Linked DNA regions of Homo sapiens: region 2 is linked to region 1. Evidence: promoter capture Hi-C in human tissues and cell types (Jung and others, 2019). All regions are on one chromosome and are shown on one strand. The core of a region is centred on a gene start or on the middle of the fragment in contact, and the rest is flanking DNA. Distances in the headings are between cores, read along the strand shown. Region 1 holds the start of ZNF784 (zinc finger protein 784). Region 2 overlaps GP6 (glycoprotein VI platelet).

Region 1 (2,873 bases), core at 263-2,762:
TACAGTGCCTAGGGCCCATGATACTCTTAGGGACCCACAACATTTAAAAATTTATTTTAGGCCGGGCGCAGTGGCTCACACCTGTAATCCCAGCACTTTGGGAGGCCGAGGTGGGCGGATCACCTGAGGTCAGGAGTTCGAGACCAGCCTGGCCAACATGGTGAGACCCTGTATATACTAAAAATACAAAAATTAGCCGGGCATGGTGGCGGGCACCTGTAATCCCAGCTACTCAAGAGGCTGAGGCAGGAGAATCGCTTGAGCCCGGGAGGCAGAGGTTGCAGTGAGCCATGATCATGCCACTGCACTCCAGCCTGGGCGACAGAGTGAGACTCCATCTCAAAAAAAAAAAAATTATTTTAAAATCAAAAGAAAAGAAGGGAAATATAGCTTTGGAAGACCAAGGCAGAAGGATCGCTTAAGGCTAGGAGTTCAAGACCAGCCTGGGCAAGGCAAGACAGCAAGATCCCCATCTCTATAAAAGAAGAAGAAAGGAGGAGGAGGAGATAATTCAGCCTAAGTGGTGTTTATCTTTATTTTATACCAACATATCACAAAATATAATTTCATATATATTTATGAATGAAATGATCATGCTTAGGATCATGTTTAAGTATCTCCTATCCTGCCCTTTCAAGAAAACTATTTAAAGATGTTTCCAAACTCTTCCATGTCTCTTCTCAGTGGTTTGTCACAATGCTTCTACAGTGCTACACAAAAGAAAGAGAAATGGTCCAGAGAAGTGTAGTGACTTATCCAAGGTGATACCACCAGAATGACTAAACGGGGCAGCTAAGAAGAGCCCCGTCCTTGATGCTGCTGAAAACCCCGCGTTTTTGAGCTCTTTCCTCCCAAACATAACATCAGCTTGCGGGTTTTTGCGTCCTCCCAGGACCACCTGTGTTGCTGTTTACTGAATATTTTTCTCCACACTGCCTTTTTTTTTTTTTTTTTTGACAGAGTCTCTGTCACTCAGGCTGCATGCAGTGGCGAGATCATGGCTCACTGCAGCCTCGACCTCCCGGCCTCAAGCGATCCTCCCACCTCAGCCTCCCGAGTAGCTGAGAATACAGGCATGAGCCACCGCACCCGGCCTACACCGACGTTTATAAACTTGGCGTCATTACGTTGTCATGAGCAGTGCAGAGGTAATCACAAAAACGTTTACCGTGGAAACAAAGCAAAGCTTCTTCAGTTCTGCTGAGGTTCCCCTGACAGCCAGAGCCTCGAGTCGGCCTGCGTTGGTTTAGAAGGAACGTTCGGATTTGTTCCCAGGGTGTTACAGGCATCCTAGCGCCACACAGAGCGTACCCTCGGAGGGACAGACAGGTAATTAGAGAGGGAACAACTCACATTCTCCCGGGCTCAGCCGCCACGCCCCGCCCCGCCACGCCCCCTGCTGCACCACGCCCCCTCGCAGCCCCGCACTGCGCCTGCGCAGTAGCTCTTACGCCAGTTCGAGCCCCACCCCCTTTCAGAGCGAACATTGGCCTTGGGGGCGGGGCTTGGGCACAAGATGGCCGCTGCGCGCCCAGAGGCCCAGAGTCGGAGCTCACCGACTCCGGAGTCGCGATCCCAGGAGCCACTGGACCTGGTGCGGGCAAGGAAGGGGCCTGGGCGTGGGGCTCGAGGTGGGAGGAGGTCGTAGTGTGGGGGGCGGGTCCGGGGCGTGGCCTATGAGGGGGTGGGCGAGGGAGGTATTTAGTGCTATGGCCCTGGGGGTGGGGCTTCTTGTGGTTTCGCGAGGGGCGGGGCAGGGGAGGAGACTATGTCATGGTGGGCGGGGTGGGGGAGGGACCTATGGGTGGTGGGCGGGGCCTGGATGGGGGCGGAGTCTGAGGACGGTGTTGTCTTGTGGGACGGGTTTGGGTCCAGGGAAGGGGGCTTACCAGGGATAATTTGCATAATTTGGGTGGAGCCTTGTAAGGGGCGGGGCCTCATAAATTCTAGGGCTAATTCTAGGGTAGAAGGTTGGGAAGGTGACCCTGAAAAACGTGGGGGATTATGATTGGAGCACCTATGTCGGGGTAGGGGATAATTCTTCAAGGGTCTTAGTGATGCTTCTCGAATGCCCAAGGGAGAATTTGGGGGTAGAAGTGGGTGGTCTAGGTGACTTTGGAACTTCCTCCACGTTACCCCACTCAGAATTAGACTAATTGAGGACATTCATTCATTCAACAAACATTTACTGAGCTCCTACTTCGGCTCTGTAAATAGAGAAGTGACCAAGACAGACAAGGGTTGTGTTCTTTTGGAGCCTGCAGTCTCTTGAGAGGAGAGAGACAATAAAGGAGAGTTACTGTGATATGTTCTATAAAGGAAATAAAAATTGAGCCAATTTCTATAAATTGAGCCAAGAGTAGGGGTGGGGCAGCTAAATTTAGACGAGAGAAGTCAGCTGGGTGCCGGCTTATGTTTAAGCTGGGGTCAGAGAGATAAGTGGAGCTACATCGCCACAGATATTATAGTGACGATTTGGGATAAGTCATTTGGAGCCACTGGAGGGTTTTGAGTGCGAAAAATGACTTGATCTGATTTACATTTTCAAAAGACCTTCAGGCTATTCCTGGGAGGTGGGTTACAAGCCAGCAGAAATAGGAACAGAGATGCCCTTGGGTTTTTCAATTTTGGAGGCGCCAAGTGATGGGGCTTTAACTAGGGTGGAGGACAAAAGGTGGGATCCATGATATATTTTGGACAGGAGAGGAAATGTTGATGAGGATACAACAGAATCCTGGAGGATGGGCCGGGCGCGGCGGCTCACGCCTGCAATCCCAGCACTTTAGGAGGCAGAGCCAGAAGGATCTCTTGAGCCCAGTAGTTGGAGACCAGCCTGGGCAACATAGTGGGACTCCCTCTACATTAAAAATAAT
Region 2 (2,873 bases), core at 1-2,500, 610 kb after region 1:
CCCTTTGGCCCTCTGTGCTCTTGTCTGGTTTTCCCCAGAAACTCTCACCCTCACTCCATCTCCCACTGCGGTCTAACAAATCTCCTTTCGTCTCTCAGAACGGGTCTTGCAGGCAGTTTGGGTATGTCATTCATTTTCCTTAGTGTAAAACTAGCACGTTGCCCGCTTCCCTTCACATTAGAAAACAAGATCAGCCTGTGCAACATGGTGAAACCTCATCTCTACCAACAAAACAAAAAAACACAAAAATTAGCCAGGTGTGGTGGTGCATCCCTATACTCCCAGCAACTCAGGGGGCTGAGGTGGGAGAATGGCTTGAGCCTGGGAGGCAGAGGTTGCAGTGAGCTGAGATCACACCACTGCACTCTAGCTCGGGTGACGAAGCCTGACTTTGTCTCAAAAAATACAGGGATGAATATGTCAATTACCCTGATTTGATCATAGCACGTTGTATACATGTACTGCAATATTGCTGTCCACCCCATAAATATGTACAATTCTGTATACATTTTTAAAATCATAAAAATAAGATAATGCACCGTCTCCACCCCTCTCATATTTACTTTCTGAAGGAAATGTTAGGTCTTCTCAAGGTAAAGTTCTATATTTATTATAGCGTTTAGGCATTTCTTGACCATCTAATGAGTGTAAAACTGTACCACTGGGCCAAGTGCAGTGGATCATGTCTGTAATCCTAGCACTGTGGGAGGCCAAGGCAGGAGGATCGCTTGAGCCCAGGAGTTCAAGACCAGCCTGGGCAACATAGTGAGACCCCATCTCTACTTAAAATAAAGAAGATAAAAATTGTTTTAAAAAAGGAAAAGAATGGCTGGCCACAGTGGCTCACGCCTGTAATCCCGGCACTTTGGGAGGTTGAGGTAGGTGAGTCACTTGGGAAAAGACAGAAGGATGGCACCAAGAAGTTCCAGGACGACGGCTGTGAATCAGGGCTAGTGAGCACACAGCTTGGGTGAAGGGGGAATGGGAAAGTTGCTTAGAGAAGCCTCCAAATGTAAGAATGGGTCAATTCCTCGTCTTAACATAGTGGAAAATCATACTGAGATGCTATCAGAAGACAGAGGAAAAATAATTTTAGAGGTCAAGTAAACTAAGTAGATTTTAAAAAGACCAGTATAGCCTAGGCACAGTGGCTCACACCTGTAATCCCAGCACTTTGGGAGGCTGAGGCGGGATCGCTTGAGCCTAAGAGTTCGAGACCAGCCTGGGCAACATGGTGAAACCTTGTCTCATATACAAAAAATATAAAAAATTAGCTGGGTGTGGTACCACATGCCTACTCTCAGGTACTCAGGAGGCTGAGGTTGGGGATCACCTGAGCCCGGGGAGGTTGAGGCTGCAGTGAGCCATGATTGCACCACTGCTGTCAAACCTGGGTGACAGAGTGAGACCCTGCCTCAAAAGAAAATAAAAATAAAAAACAAATATAAACTTTAGGGGAACAATAACAACAACAAAAATAAAAGAAGCAAGTTATATTACCCGAAAATTCTCGGCTGCGAATATCTGTGGGTATAAACATGTGATACTGGCCGGGCGTGGTGGCTCATGCCTGTAATCCCAGCACTTCGGGAGGCTGAGGTGGGCAGATCACGAGGTCAGGAGATCGAGACCAGCTCAGCCAACATGGTGAAACCCTGTCTCTACTAAAAATACAAAAATTAGCCAGTCGTGGTGGCACACGCCTGTAGTCCCAGCTACTCAGGAGACTGAGGCTGCAGTGAGCTGAGATTGCGCCACTGCACTCCAGCCTGGGTGACAGAGTGAGACTCTGTCTCAAAAAAAAAAAATGTGATACTGAATGTTGATATGCAGACATAGAGATAAACATTGGAAGAGAAAAAACAGTAAGAACAACGCTGTAGAATAACTAAGGCCCCGCCTATTATGATAGGAATCCAGTAAGTCTAAGCTCATTCACATGGTTACATGTTTTTAGAAACCTAATATTAACAAGTTCCTAAAGAAAACAGCTAAAAGTGGGTGTCTCTTAGGCGGAGCAATGGAGGAGATGGTTAGTCAGCCACTGCATTTTGTACACACCCTTTTAGTGCTATTGGAATTTTTTAGGTAGGTGCTGTCAGGCCTCTGAGCCCAAGCTAAGCCATCATATCCCCTGTGACCTGCACGTACACATCCATATGGCTGGTTCCTGCCTTAACTGATGACATTCCACCACAAAAGAAGTGAAAATGGCCTGTTACTGCCTTAACTGATGACATTGTCTTGTGAAATTCCTTCTCCTGGCTCATCCTGGCTCAAAAGCTCCCCTACAGAGCACCTTGTGACCCCCACTCTGCCCGCCAGAGAACAACCCCGCTTTGACTGTAATTTTCCTTTACCTACCCAAATCCTATAAAACGGCCCCACCCCATCCCCCTTCGCTGACTCTCTTGTCGGACTCAGCCCACCTGCACCCAGGTGATTAAAAGCTTTATTGCTCACACAAAGCCTGTTTGGTGGTCTCTTCACATGGACGCACATGAAATTTGGTGCCGTGACTTGGATCGGGGGACCTCCCTTGGGAGATCAATCCCCTGTCTTGCTCTTTGCTCTGTGAAAAAGATCCACCTACGACCTCAGGTCCTCAGACCCACCAGCCCAAGGAACATCTCACCAAGTTTAAATTGGGTAAGCGACCTCTTCTTACTCTCTTCTCCAACCTCTCTCACTGTCCCTCAACCACTTTCTCCTTTCCACTCTTCAATCTCTCCCTTCTCTTAATTTCAATTCCTTTCATTTTCTGGTAGAGACAAAGGAGACACGTTTTATCTGTGGACCCAAAACTCCGGCGCCGGTCACGGACTAGGGAAGGCAGCCTTCCCTTGGCGTTTAATCATTGCAGGGACGCCTCT

The links. Contacts are between HindIII fragments. The study calls those that stand out against the background at their distance.
Region 2: a fragment that was not itself captured here is called in contact with the fragment with the promoter of ZNF784 in region 1 in 1 of the 25 tissues and cell types used here (spleen).

What each region holds. Positions count from the first base shown.
Region 1 is chr19:55,623,205-55,626,077 of GRCh38, reverse strand. ZNF784 (zinc finger protein 784) reads left to right here and starts at 1,512. Exons shown (of 2, transcript NM_203374.2): 1 at 1,512-1,594. The coding sequence starts at 1,517. RefSeq lists enhancers at 1,132-1,281, 1,032-1,531 and silencers at 1,352-1,411, 1,482-1,531. The HindIII fragment of the contact is 4,171 bases long and covers 48-2,873 here.
Region 2 is chr19:55,011,647-55,014,519 of GRCh38, reverse strand. GP6 (glycoprotein VI platelet) reads left to right here. Exons shown (of 8, transcript NM_016363.5): 8 at 1-815. All of the region lies in intron 2 of GP6-AS1 (GP6 antisense RNA 1), which reads right to left. Among named protein-coding and RNA genes, the nearest start is that of GP6-AS1, 6.9 kb to the right of the region's middle. RefSeq lists an enhancer at 2,104-2,663. The HindIII fragment of the contact is 9,124 bases long and covers 1-2,873 here.